2 separate regions of the Homo sapiens genome follow, and region 2 is linked to region 1. The links are contacts of gene promoters, found by promoter capture Hi-C in blood cells and fetal thymus (Javierre and others, 2016). All regions are on one chromosome and are shown on one strand. The core of a region is centred on a gene start or on the middle of the fragment in contact, and the rest is flanking DNA. Distances in the headings are between cores, read along the strand shown.

What was found. The method cuts DNA at HindIII sites, captures the fragments that hold promoters and counts their contacts. A CHiCAGO score of 5 or more calls a contact.
Region 2: a fragment that was not itself captured here is called in contact with the fragment with the promoter of SRSF12 in region 1 in 1 of 17 cell types (naive CD8 T cells); the score reaches 5.4 in naive CD8 T cells.

Annotation. Positions count from the first base shown.
Region 1 is chr6:89,114,672-89,120,117 of GRCh38, reverse strand. It overlaps SRSF12 (serine and arginine rich splicing factor 12), which reads left to right and starts at 2,047. Exons shown (of 5, transcript NM_080743.5): 1 at 2,047-2,295. The coding sequence starts at 2,231. It also overlaps a transcript of PM20D2 not described here. RefSeq lists a silencer at 2,194-2,463. The HindIII fragment of the contact is 10,924 bases long and covers 587-5,446 here.
Region 2 is chr6:89,373,411-89,379,068 of GRCh38, reverse strand. RRAGD (Ras related GTP binding D) reads left to right here. Exons shown (of 7, transcript NM_021244.5): 5 at 1,256-1,398. Among named protein-coding and RNA genes, the nearest start is that of UBE2J1, 24 kb to the right of the region's middle. RefSeq lists enhancers at 2,971-3,471, 3,472-3,972. The HindIII fragment of the contact is 2,379 bases long and covers 2,574-4,952 here.

The sequences.
Region 1 (5,446 bases), core at 798-3,297:
TGTTCTCCTGGTAGTGAATAAGTCTCACGAGATCTGATGGTTTTATAAGGGGAAACCCCTTTCGCTTGGCTCTCATTCTCTGTCTGCCACCATGTAAGATGTGCCTTTTGCCCTACACCATGATTGTGAGGCCTCCCCAGTCTTGGGTATGTCTTTATCAGCAGTGTGAAAACGGACTAATACAGTGGCTCACACCTGTAATCTCAACTTTGGGAGGCCAAGGCAGGAGGATCACTTGAGCCTAAGAGTTTGAAATCAGCCTAGGCAACATAGACTCCATCTAAAATAAAAAGAGAGAGAGACAGAGAAAGAGAGAGAGAAAGACAGGAGGCCATGTGAAGACAGAAGTGGAGACTGGATCTATGTATCCACAGCCAAAACATGTGTGGGGCCACCAAAGACTGGAAGAAACAGAGGATTCCCCTAGAGTGCCTTCAGATAGATGATGGCCCTGCGGACACCTGGATTTCAGACTTCTGGCCTCTGAACTACAAGAGAATAAATTTCTGTTGTTTCGGGCCACCAAATCTGTGGTGCTTTGTCATGGCAGCCCTAGCCAACTAACACATGGTAAGCATTCTAAGCTTTTGTATTATGAATCCAGCCTGCTCTCCAGCCTCATTTTCCAACTCTTCTCCAGCCTCATGCTCCTGTTTTGCCTCATTTACTATATTGCCTCAAAGCCTTTGCACGTGCTGTTCCACTGCACTAATTACTCTTCTCCATTCTTTACCCATCTCTTCAAGACTTGTTCAGGGAACATAAGTGACCCTCTAGCCTTGCTCACCATCCCACAATGCCTGCTCTCAGCAGCATATAGTTCTTTTCATAGCCCTGTATTATAGTTTGTATCTTTACCAGTGTGATTGTTAGATTCTGCCTCCCTACCAAATTCTAAGCTCTAGGGGAATAGGCACGGTGCCAGTCTAGCCCTGTGCCTGCAGTGCCAGAGCAATCCCTTCTGAATGAAAGAATAGCCACCGTTCCAGTACAGCTGCAGACCCAGGAACCTCCACAGCCTCTGGGAGGGCTGTGAGCTAGAAGGGTGACCACGACATGTATTCTTCAAAGCCTACCACTTCTGCGAGCGAAAAGGGGCACTCTTCACACTTAGGAGTTGCCTGGTTACACTCCCAGCCCTGAATAACAGGCTGTGCCTGCCGGCCACAGGAGCAAGGCGAAGACGAGTCTAACTAGAAGGGGATGGGCTACAACATTTTGGGGGAATAGGGAGAGGGTAATTTAAATTTTGCTTAACTGTCCCTGCATTTAAACTGTTGTCTTCTACATCATGTATTCATTTGTACATTCGTTTGTCCCCCCTCTAGAATGTAAGCTCAGAGGGCGGGGCTTGGCCTGTTTGTTCATTGCTATATCCCACGCTAAGTGCCTGGCGCATAGTAGACGCTCAATAAACATCTGAATGAATGTACTCACAGCTGAGTGTTATGCCCCAAGTGAATAAAGGATGAAGAATCATATAATACTTAAAAATCCAACAGGCCAGGCGCGGTGGCTCACACCTGTAATCCCAGCACTTTGGAAGGCCGAGGCGGGAGAGGCTTGAGCCCAGGAGTTTGAGACCACCTGGGCAACACAGCGAGACCCCGTCTCTATTAAAAAAACAAATCCGAACAAAACCGAGACCTCACAGTTGGAAAGCCGAAGGCTCAAGACCAGAGGGGCAGGAGGCCTACCAACTGCCAAGGTCCTGCGCTCAGGACGATGCGCTGAGGGCCGCGGAGGCTGAGCGGGGGCGCGGTTGAAAGCGGCTCTCACTGACCCCACCTCCGCCCAGCCGCAGCCCCGCCACCACCTCTGGGTCCTCTAACCCCCGGCGTCCCCGCCGCGGCCTCAAGCCCCCTCTTGGCCTCCGCCCTCCTGACATACACTGGCCCTCGCCGCCCCCTCCCCAAATCCCGTCGCACTCCAGGACCCCCCATACCCGGATCCCATAGGGCCTGGGAACGGCCGCGCTCCTGTCTTCGGAATTCCCGCGGCCCCTGGGCCGCGCCGGCGCCGCCCCCGCCCCCGGCCCGTGCGTCCAGGCTGGCGCCGCGCTGCGCCCCCTCTGCGCCGGCCTCTGCGGCTGCGCGCTGGCGGGGCTGAGGCCGAGGGGTGGGGGTCGCGCCGGGGGCCGGCGGAGCTCCTGTGGTGGTAGCAGCGGTAGCGGGAGACGGAGCGAGTCCAGCGGCCGCGGGCAGACCCGGAGGGAACGGAGGAAGCGGTCATGTCTCGCTACACGAGGCCCCCCAACACCTCCCTGTTCATCAGGAACGTCGCGGACGCCACCAGGTGAACGGCCGCGGCTGCAGGTTGGGGGCGCGGAGGAGGGGCGGGGTAACAGCCGCGCCGCGGAGCACGGCCGAGGCCCGGCGGAGGCTCGGGGGAGCTGCGCGGAGCCTCCCCGCGGGCCCAGGCTGCGCCACTTGGGGAGGTGTGAGCCCTCGGACTACTCCGCGGCCCAGGGCGGAACTCGCGCCTCCGCCCTCCCGGCCAGCTTTCAGCCCCGGCGCCGCGCACATCGTGTCCCGGGCCCGCGTCGCTTTCCGCGGTTCAGCACCGCAGCCGGCGGGCCGTGGGACACGGGGCGCCCCTCTCCCGAGCTCAGGTCGCTCCCCGCCGGGAGTCGGGAGGGTTTGCGCTCCAGCGAGTGCCCGCGTTTCAGCTCCTTTGTCGCCGTGCCCCGATAAAATCGCGCGCATCCAACCCTCCTAGATGGAGAGGAATTGGGGCTGGTGAGAACGTTTTGTACCATAATGCGTACTCGGGCCTTACAGTTTCTTTCCCCCAGTTCTGGTCTACTTACAGACGGTGCTGCTTGCATTTTATTCACACAATTTTATTCTGCATACAAAAAATAACTTCAATGAATGAGATCAGTGCGTTTTTCTTTAAAGTTCTGAGTCCAGTATTAACACCCTTTTTAAGGGCGTGAGTATAGGCTCACCTGGTTGATTCTGATGCCCCACCCCTCCGTTGAGAATTTTGTCTACAGAGTGTCTGAACACAGATACTAAGGAATGACTTTTTCATATAGCACTTCCTTCCTTAATGGAGCTGAAGAAATTGGGGGCGGGGGGAGAGGGAACGGTGTTAATAGACATTCTCATTTCACTGGGCTTCATTTACTTCCCCCCAGCCTTTCTACCTATGCAGTACTGTTTTATTGTACATAAGGGAGAGCGGAAACTAAGAGTTTTAATGATTTACCTGGGGCCAGAGAGGTATAGATACATGGAGCTCTTGACTCCATAGTCATCTGAGATGAGTATTATAATTTACCTTTGAGGAGTAAATAAACGTTAAGTATTTTTTATTTTTTAGTTTTTTTTTTTTTTTTAGACAAAGTCTCGCTCTTGTCCCCCAGGCTGGAGTACAATGGCCCGATCTTGGTTGGCTGCAACCTCTGCCTCCCGGGTTCAAGCGATTCTCCTGCCTCAGCATCCAAAGTAGATGGGATTACAGGCGTGTGCCACCACACCCGGCTAATTTTTATATTTTTAGTAGAGATGAGGTTTCATTATGTTGGCCAGGCTGATCTCCAACTCCTGACCTCAAGTGATCCGCCCAGCTCGGCCTCCCAAAGCGCTGAGATTACAGGCATGAGCCACCGTGCCCGGCCAAGTATTTTTTATTTGATCACCGCAAGTACATGTATCACAACTATATGTTGTGGTTAATATATCTTAGTTAACATCTAAAAGGTGCCTTGTTTACATTTCTTCTGTCAGCCTTTTTATCAATATATTACATAGAAAACACGAACATAATTTATGATTTGGGCAGAATTAAAAAACCTTGCAGTTGAACAGACAACTTGAAAATGGAATAAGCATCAAGCCTCTTCAGGGTGTCTGTAGAAAAATCAGAGGTTTCCAATTCTAATGGTTCACAGGGGCCAGCCGGGGTAATATAAACGAGTGAAGCTGCCAGCCTATAAGGCACAGTAGGATGGTGTGGACTATCAAATAGAAATAGAATAGCAAATAGAAAAGGAAATATGCCATCTAAAAGGTGCAGCATCTGCCTCTAGGCTCCAGCTGACAGCTGCCATGTAGACATCTGGACTTATTGTTGATATATCTTACTAGTTGTAAAGAGAAATCAGAAATCTGGATTTTGTATGTGTAATCTTAGTCTTTAGATGCATTAAGTTGAATCATATGAAAATCCCATTCGTGGCCGGGTGCGGTGGCTCATGCCTGTAATCACAGCACTTTGGGAGGCTGAGGCAGGCGGATCACGAGGTCAGGAGATGGAAACCATCCTGGCTAGCACGATGAAACCCCGTCTCTACTAAAAATAAAAAAATTAGACGGGCGTGGTGGCGGGTGCCTGTAGTCCCAGCTGCTCAGGAGGCTGAGGCAGGATAATGGTGTGAACCCGGGAGGCGGAGCTTGCAGTGAGCCAACATCGCGCCACTGCACTCCAGCCTGGGAGACAGAGCGAGGACTCCGTCTCAAAAAAAAAAAAAAAAAAAAAAGAAAGAAAAAAGAAAACCCCATTTGTAGATTTGAAAGCTGTAAAATATAAGGCTGGGCGCGGTGGCTCACGCCTGTAATCCCAGCACTTTAGGAGACCGAGTTCGGCGGATCACTTGAGGTGAGGGGTTCGAGACCAACCTGGCCTACCTGGTGAAACCCCGTCTGTACTAAAACACAAAAATTAGCCAGGTGTGGTGGCTGGCGCCTGTAATCCCAGCTACTCAGGAGACTGAGGCACGAGAATCGCTTGAACCCCAGAGGTGGAGGTTGGCAGTGAGCCGAGATCAGGCCACTGCACTCCAGCCTGGGCGACAGAGTGAGACTCTGTCTCAAAAAATAAATAAATAAAAGAAAGCTATAAAATGTAGCCTGGTGTATGACACCTGTAGTCCCAATTACTGGGAAAGCTGAGGTGGGAGCCCGGGAGGTCACTTGAGCCCGGGAGGTCAAGGTTACAGTGAACGATGATCACATCACTGTACTCCAGCCTGGGTGACAGAGAGACCTTTAGAGAGTCTAAAAAAATAAAAGCTGTGGCCGGGCGTGGTGGCTCACGCCTATAATCCCAGCACTTTGGGAGGCCGAGGTGGGCAGATCACGAAATTAGGAGTTTGAGACCAGCCTGGCCAACATGGTAAAACACCGTCTCTACTAAAGATACAAAAAATTCACCAGGCATGGTGGTGCGTGCCTGTGATCCCAGCTACTCGGGAGGCGGAGACAGGAGAATCGCTTGAACCCGGGAGGTGGAGGTTGCAGTGAGCCGAGATAGTACCATTGCACTCCAGCCTGGGCGACAGGGCGAGACTCTGTCTCAAAAACTAAAAAAATAAAAGCAGTAAAATATTGGCAATTTCATATTTATACGCATTTTAAAAATGTTTAAACGTCATGCAGGCCAAATAAAACACATCTGCAGGTGACACCTGATCTCTGATCTATGTACTTCATTCACCAGT
Region 2 (5,658 bases), core at 2,514-5,013, 260 kb before region 1:
TAAAATTTAACTCCCAGCCCAGCTTGATGGCTCACGCCCCACTTTGGGAGGTTGAGGCGTTACGATGGCTTGAGGCCAGGAGGTTGGGACCAGTTTAGGTAACATAGTGAGATCCTGTCTATACAAAAAAAATGTAAAAACTAGCCAGGTGTGGTAGCACATGCCTGTAGTCCCAGCTACTTGGGAGGCTGTGGTGGAAGGAGTACTTACTTGAGCCCAGGAGTTTGAGGCTAAAGTGAGCCATGATTGTGCCACTGCACTCCAGCCTGGGCATCAGAGCGAGAACTTGTCTCTAAAAATAAAATATAACTACTCAGATGCATTCCTGCACTTCACTGGTATAATTGGAGGGTTTATTCAAGCCTGTAGGCAATCATTCAATATTAATAGAGCCCCACCAGAGGTAGGGAACATAAAACTTGGCTTTATTGATAAGACGCAAACTGTTGAATAGCTTTTTATAAGTTTAACATGCTATGAGTGATGTGCTGAATGAACCCTACACATCACCAGCTCCAGGTAGGCGCTGCTGAGTTGAATTGAGGCAGACCTATTGGTTATACTCACGTTTACTCTGTCACTACACAATTTTGAGTGTGTTTGTTTAGTGTTTCTAAGCTTATTTTAAAATTTACAGTCAGTAAAAGTATTTTTACTTGGCCTTTTCCTAATTGCAGGTATGTATCTCTACGAGTTAGGAAATATTGCTCAATTTGGTTACCTAAAATAAATAATTTGTGGTCATTCGAATTCTTTTTTTTTTTTTGAGACGGAGTTTTGCTCTTGTTGCCCAGGCTGGAGTGCAATGGCGCCATCTCGGCTCACCGCTACCTCCGCCTCCTGGGTTCAAGCAGTTCTCCTTCCTCAGCCTCCCGAGTAGCTGGGATTACAGGCATGCACCACCACGCCTGGCTAATTTTGTATTTTTAGTAGAGACAGGTTTCTCCCGGTTGGTCAGGCTGGTTTCGAACTCCTGGCCTCAGGTGATCTGCCCGCCTTGGCCTCCCAAAGTGCTGGGATTACAGGCGTGAGCCACCATGCCCGGCCTCTACTTTTTATTTCTTATGCAAGTCCAGTATAGAGAAGTTTATGACAGTGAAGTTTAAATTGTAATAAAATGATACAATTTAAATTTTTAGTAGCGAGTTTTGCTCATTTTGTATTTTACATTAAGAATGGCATTCAATTTTGTGTAGTCATGACATGGTCTGAAGTTGACTGTTGCTTTAAGGCAACTTTTTTTTTTAAATTTCAGAATTCTGGAATTGAAAAGGCATTTCTATTTGATGTGGTCAGTAAAATTTATATTGCAACTGATAGTACTCCGGTGGATATGCAAACCTATGAGCTCTGCTGTGATATGATAGATGTGGTTATTGACATCTCTTGTATTTATGGGTAAGTACAACATTCTTAAAGGCCACAATCAAGCCATCCTTCCTTCATAACCTTTCAGGCATTTTGCATTTACATTTACTTACTTAACTTTAACATTTTTGTCTTAAATGACTGAAATCTATAAATAAATATACCAGTTAGCATGCAATAATAACAGTTATTGAGCAAATGCCACGCATTATGCTAATCTCATTGCATGCTTCCTATTATTTATTTCAATTTTTTAGCAATAGGGTGTCCCTGTGTTGTCCAGGATAGATCACTCCTGGGCTCAAATGATCCTCTCACCTCAGCCTCTCGAGTAGCTGGGATTATAGGCATGAGCCACTGTGCCCAGGTTATCATTTAATTCTCAACTATTCGATGTGGCAGGAATTACATTTGACCCTTGAACAACACAGGGGTTGGGGTACCAACCCTTTGAACAGTCAAAAAGCCACATATATTTCCCCCCTGACAAACTTAACTATTAATACTAATAGTCTACTGTTGACTGGAAGCCTTACCAATAACATGAATGATTGATTAACACACATTTTGTATGTTATGTATTACGCACTGTATTCTTAACAATAAAGTGAGCTACAGAGAAGAAATTATAAGAAAGAATATATTTACTATTTATTAAATGGAAGTGGGTCATCATAAAGGTCTTTACCCTCATTGTCTTCACATTGAGTAGGCTGAGGAGGAGGAAGAGAAGGGGTTGATTTTGCTGTCTTAGGAGTGGCAGAAGCGGAAGAAAATCCATGTATAAGTGGACCTAGGCAGTTCAAATCTGTGTTGTTTAAGGTCAACTGTAGTGTATTCACTTTACAGATGAAAAAACTGAGGTTCAGAGTGGTTACATTTCTTACTCTTGCTCACACTATCAGTAAGGATTGGAACTGGAGTTTCAACTCAGATCTGATTCCTGATCCTCTGCTGAAAAAAATCTGTTAACATACCGTTCTTAGAAAACAGAGCTTCCTATACACTTAATATAAAATAAACAAGGAGTGGGGGAAACTGATTATGTTACCCGATGTAGAAACAATTCTACATAATTATAAATGTGCTGAACAGGTGGTGTACAGACTGACTAGGTGTGAACTAGTTGTTCATCTTATTAAGATGTTAAGGTGTTGCTATCTGTATTGTATCTGACATCCTCATCTAATCGATGAGGTAAAGCTTTTGCTCATCTTCCTCTTTACTCACTGCCTGTGACCTGCCTTACACAGCTTGACGCTCTGCCTTTCAGCTTTTGTGAGAGTCTAGTCTCCATTTTTCTCTTCCATTGCTTAAAAATCCTTTGCCCACTCAGCTCGGATTCTCTCTGTTAACTGTTAGACACACACACACACACACACACACACACACACACACACCACACACACATGGAAAGTGATACTTACAAGATTGTATTGAGGATGAAATATCATTAGGCTCATAACGTGCCTTTACCTGGTAGACTCTGGATAAATGTAGCTGCCATAATTTATTATTACTGTTATAATTAAACGCTGACATCTGGCTTTAGAAATAAACCTTATTGCCCAAGATTACTGCCCTGAAGCATTCTATTATTTTTAAACCGTTTAAATGGATGACCTTGAAATAGTCATGGAAGATGAACGCACCCTGATTACAGTGCAGATTGCCATGGTAATCAAGTACAATGAACAACACAATTAATCTGGCACATGCTTAACAATGTGCATGATCATTATTGTGCCATATGGTCATTAGCTGTAAGTGGTAAGTTGTTCATGTAAATGATGTTAATCAGAGTTACTTTTACCCAGCTAAAACAAACATGGGGAGGGAGGGGTTAGGAGGAGGTGGCCTGGCTTTGCCGTCAGATTGGTTTTTCTGTGGTGGAGTACAGTGTTCTGAGAACCCACAGGATTCAGTAAGAACCAGTCTGGGTCACAGATGGTTTGTGGGCTCTGGGGTTTCCTCAGATTGTTTGCTGGAGCAGCAACAAGCCAGTCCTGTTAACCAGCAGGAGGCAGGGTTGTGTGCAGAGCCTGGGGCCCTCTTAGGCAATGAGGAAGCAGGTGCCCTTGTAACTGGAGGCCTTGCTGCCCCTCCCCACCTGCCCAGTGGAGACCAGCAGGCCCTAGAATCAGGTGACCTGGTGCCTCAGGAATCTCTCAGCTGAGGCTGTGCCCCAGCTGGCAGCTCTGTGCTCACTCATGCACACACATGCACACGCACATATATGCACACACACATGCACACACTTTAAAATATGTTCTATCTTCATGTGTTTTCATTGCTTATAGATGAAAAACTTGAGTAGTAAAACAGTTTTTGCAGTTGCAAACCTCATCAATTTCTACTTGTAATTTTTGGTGGAGTCTGTTTTTCTAATTTGTTTAATGTTTACCTTTTTCTGATTGTGAAAGTAATACATGCTTATTGCAGAAAATACATAAAAGTCTAAAGAATAAAATTAAAGTAGCCCATAATCTCACCACCTAGAGACAGTCAGTGTTTACATTTTATATAGTTTGTTCTTATTTCCATGTGTAATTTTTAGGATAATGAGATCACATTTGTATGTGAAATTTTTCATCCTGCTTTTTTCATTTAACATTACCACCTGATAATTTTCCTGTATTATTAAATGCTGTTAATAAACAGTGTTTAATATCTATATAGTATTATATTTACTTGGAAATTTTAAATGCTATTTTCTTCATTGGGTAAAACATGTTAAATGTTTCAGTTTCTTGTTCTCAGAACATTACTTATAAGCAAGAGAGATTGAGCCTTAAAATATAGTAGTTAAAACAGTGCAATGGAAGTTAATGAATTCTGTTAAAGCATCTTTAACATTTGATGTCCAGCACTTAAAAGGTTTTTCTTTAATGTTTTGGTAGGTTATAGTGAGTTGAATCCTTTAAAAAAAACAAAAAATACGAACTTCCACAATTTACTTTTTTTTTTTTTGAGATGGAGTTTCGCTCTTGTTGCCCAGGCTGGAGTGCAATGGCATGATCTCGGCTCACTGCAACCCCCGCCTCCCGGGTTCAAGTGATTCTCCTCCCTCAGCCTCCCGAGTAGCTGGGATTACAGGCATGCACTACCACGCCTAGCTAATTTTGTATTTTTAGTAGAGACGGAGTTTCTCCATGTTGGTCAGGCTGTTCTCGAACTCCCAACCTCAGGCGATCCACCTCGGCCTCCCAAAGTGCTGGGATTATAGGCCTGAGCCACCGTGCCCACCCTCACAATTTACTTTTAAGTGGCCATGTATATGGCAGCTTAAAATACTCTCAAAACTAAAAACCTACATTTCCTAAAAATACTCTTGTGCAATTCAGGCTTTTCATTAAATCTGGCTTGATACTGTACCCCCTTGTGTATTTACAGGATTAAAGCATTAACTTTGAAATTAGCCATATCTAGGTTTGAGGTCCTGACTTTACCCCTATCGTCAGCTTTGACCAAGTTATCTTATTTTCCCCTAGCCTCAGTTTCCTTAGAAACTTAGAGGATTCTTATAGCAGACAGAGGATAATGCATTTTAAGAACTAAGAATGGTTAATATCACATAGTAAGCTTTAATAAATGCTAGTTCTCAGTGAATGTGGTAAGGTTTAACACAATTCCAATTAAGTCAAATTTCTGGTCAGTTATTCATAAATTTGGGGAGTAAAAATAAATCAGAAAATTTATGTACAGTTTTAGGTAAGGGGGAAAAGGTTTAGGGAAGTGTCCTTTGCCTGTGAGGAAAGGATTCATAACACTTTTATTACACAGGTATCTTCAGAGGGTCCAGTTTCAGTCATTAAAGCCATGATAATAAGTGTGTATTTTATGTTCTCAGCATTATGCTTAGTGCTACATATGCATTATTTCATTTAATCTTCATTAGAAAACTTTGAAATAATTACTGTTAGTGTACATATGAGGAAATTGAGGCTCAAAGAAGTTATTCGACTTGTCCAAGCTCACATAGCTAGCAAATAAAAGAAATGAGATTCAAACCCAAGTCACTTGTGTCTGCACACCACACCTTTTCTTAAATAGACCTATATATCTTTTTTTTTTTTTTTTTTTGAGACGGAGTCCTGCTCTGTCACCCAGGCTAGAGTACAGTGGCACAATCTCGGCTCACGGCAACGTCTGCCTCCTGGGTTCAAGGGATTCTTCTGCCTCAGCCTCCCGAGTAGCTGGGACTACAGGTGTGCGCCACCACGTGGTGCCTGTCTAATTTTTGTATTTTTAGTAGAGATGGGGTTTCACCCATATTGGCCAGGCTGGTCT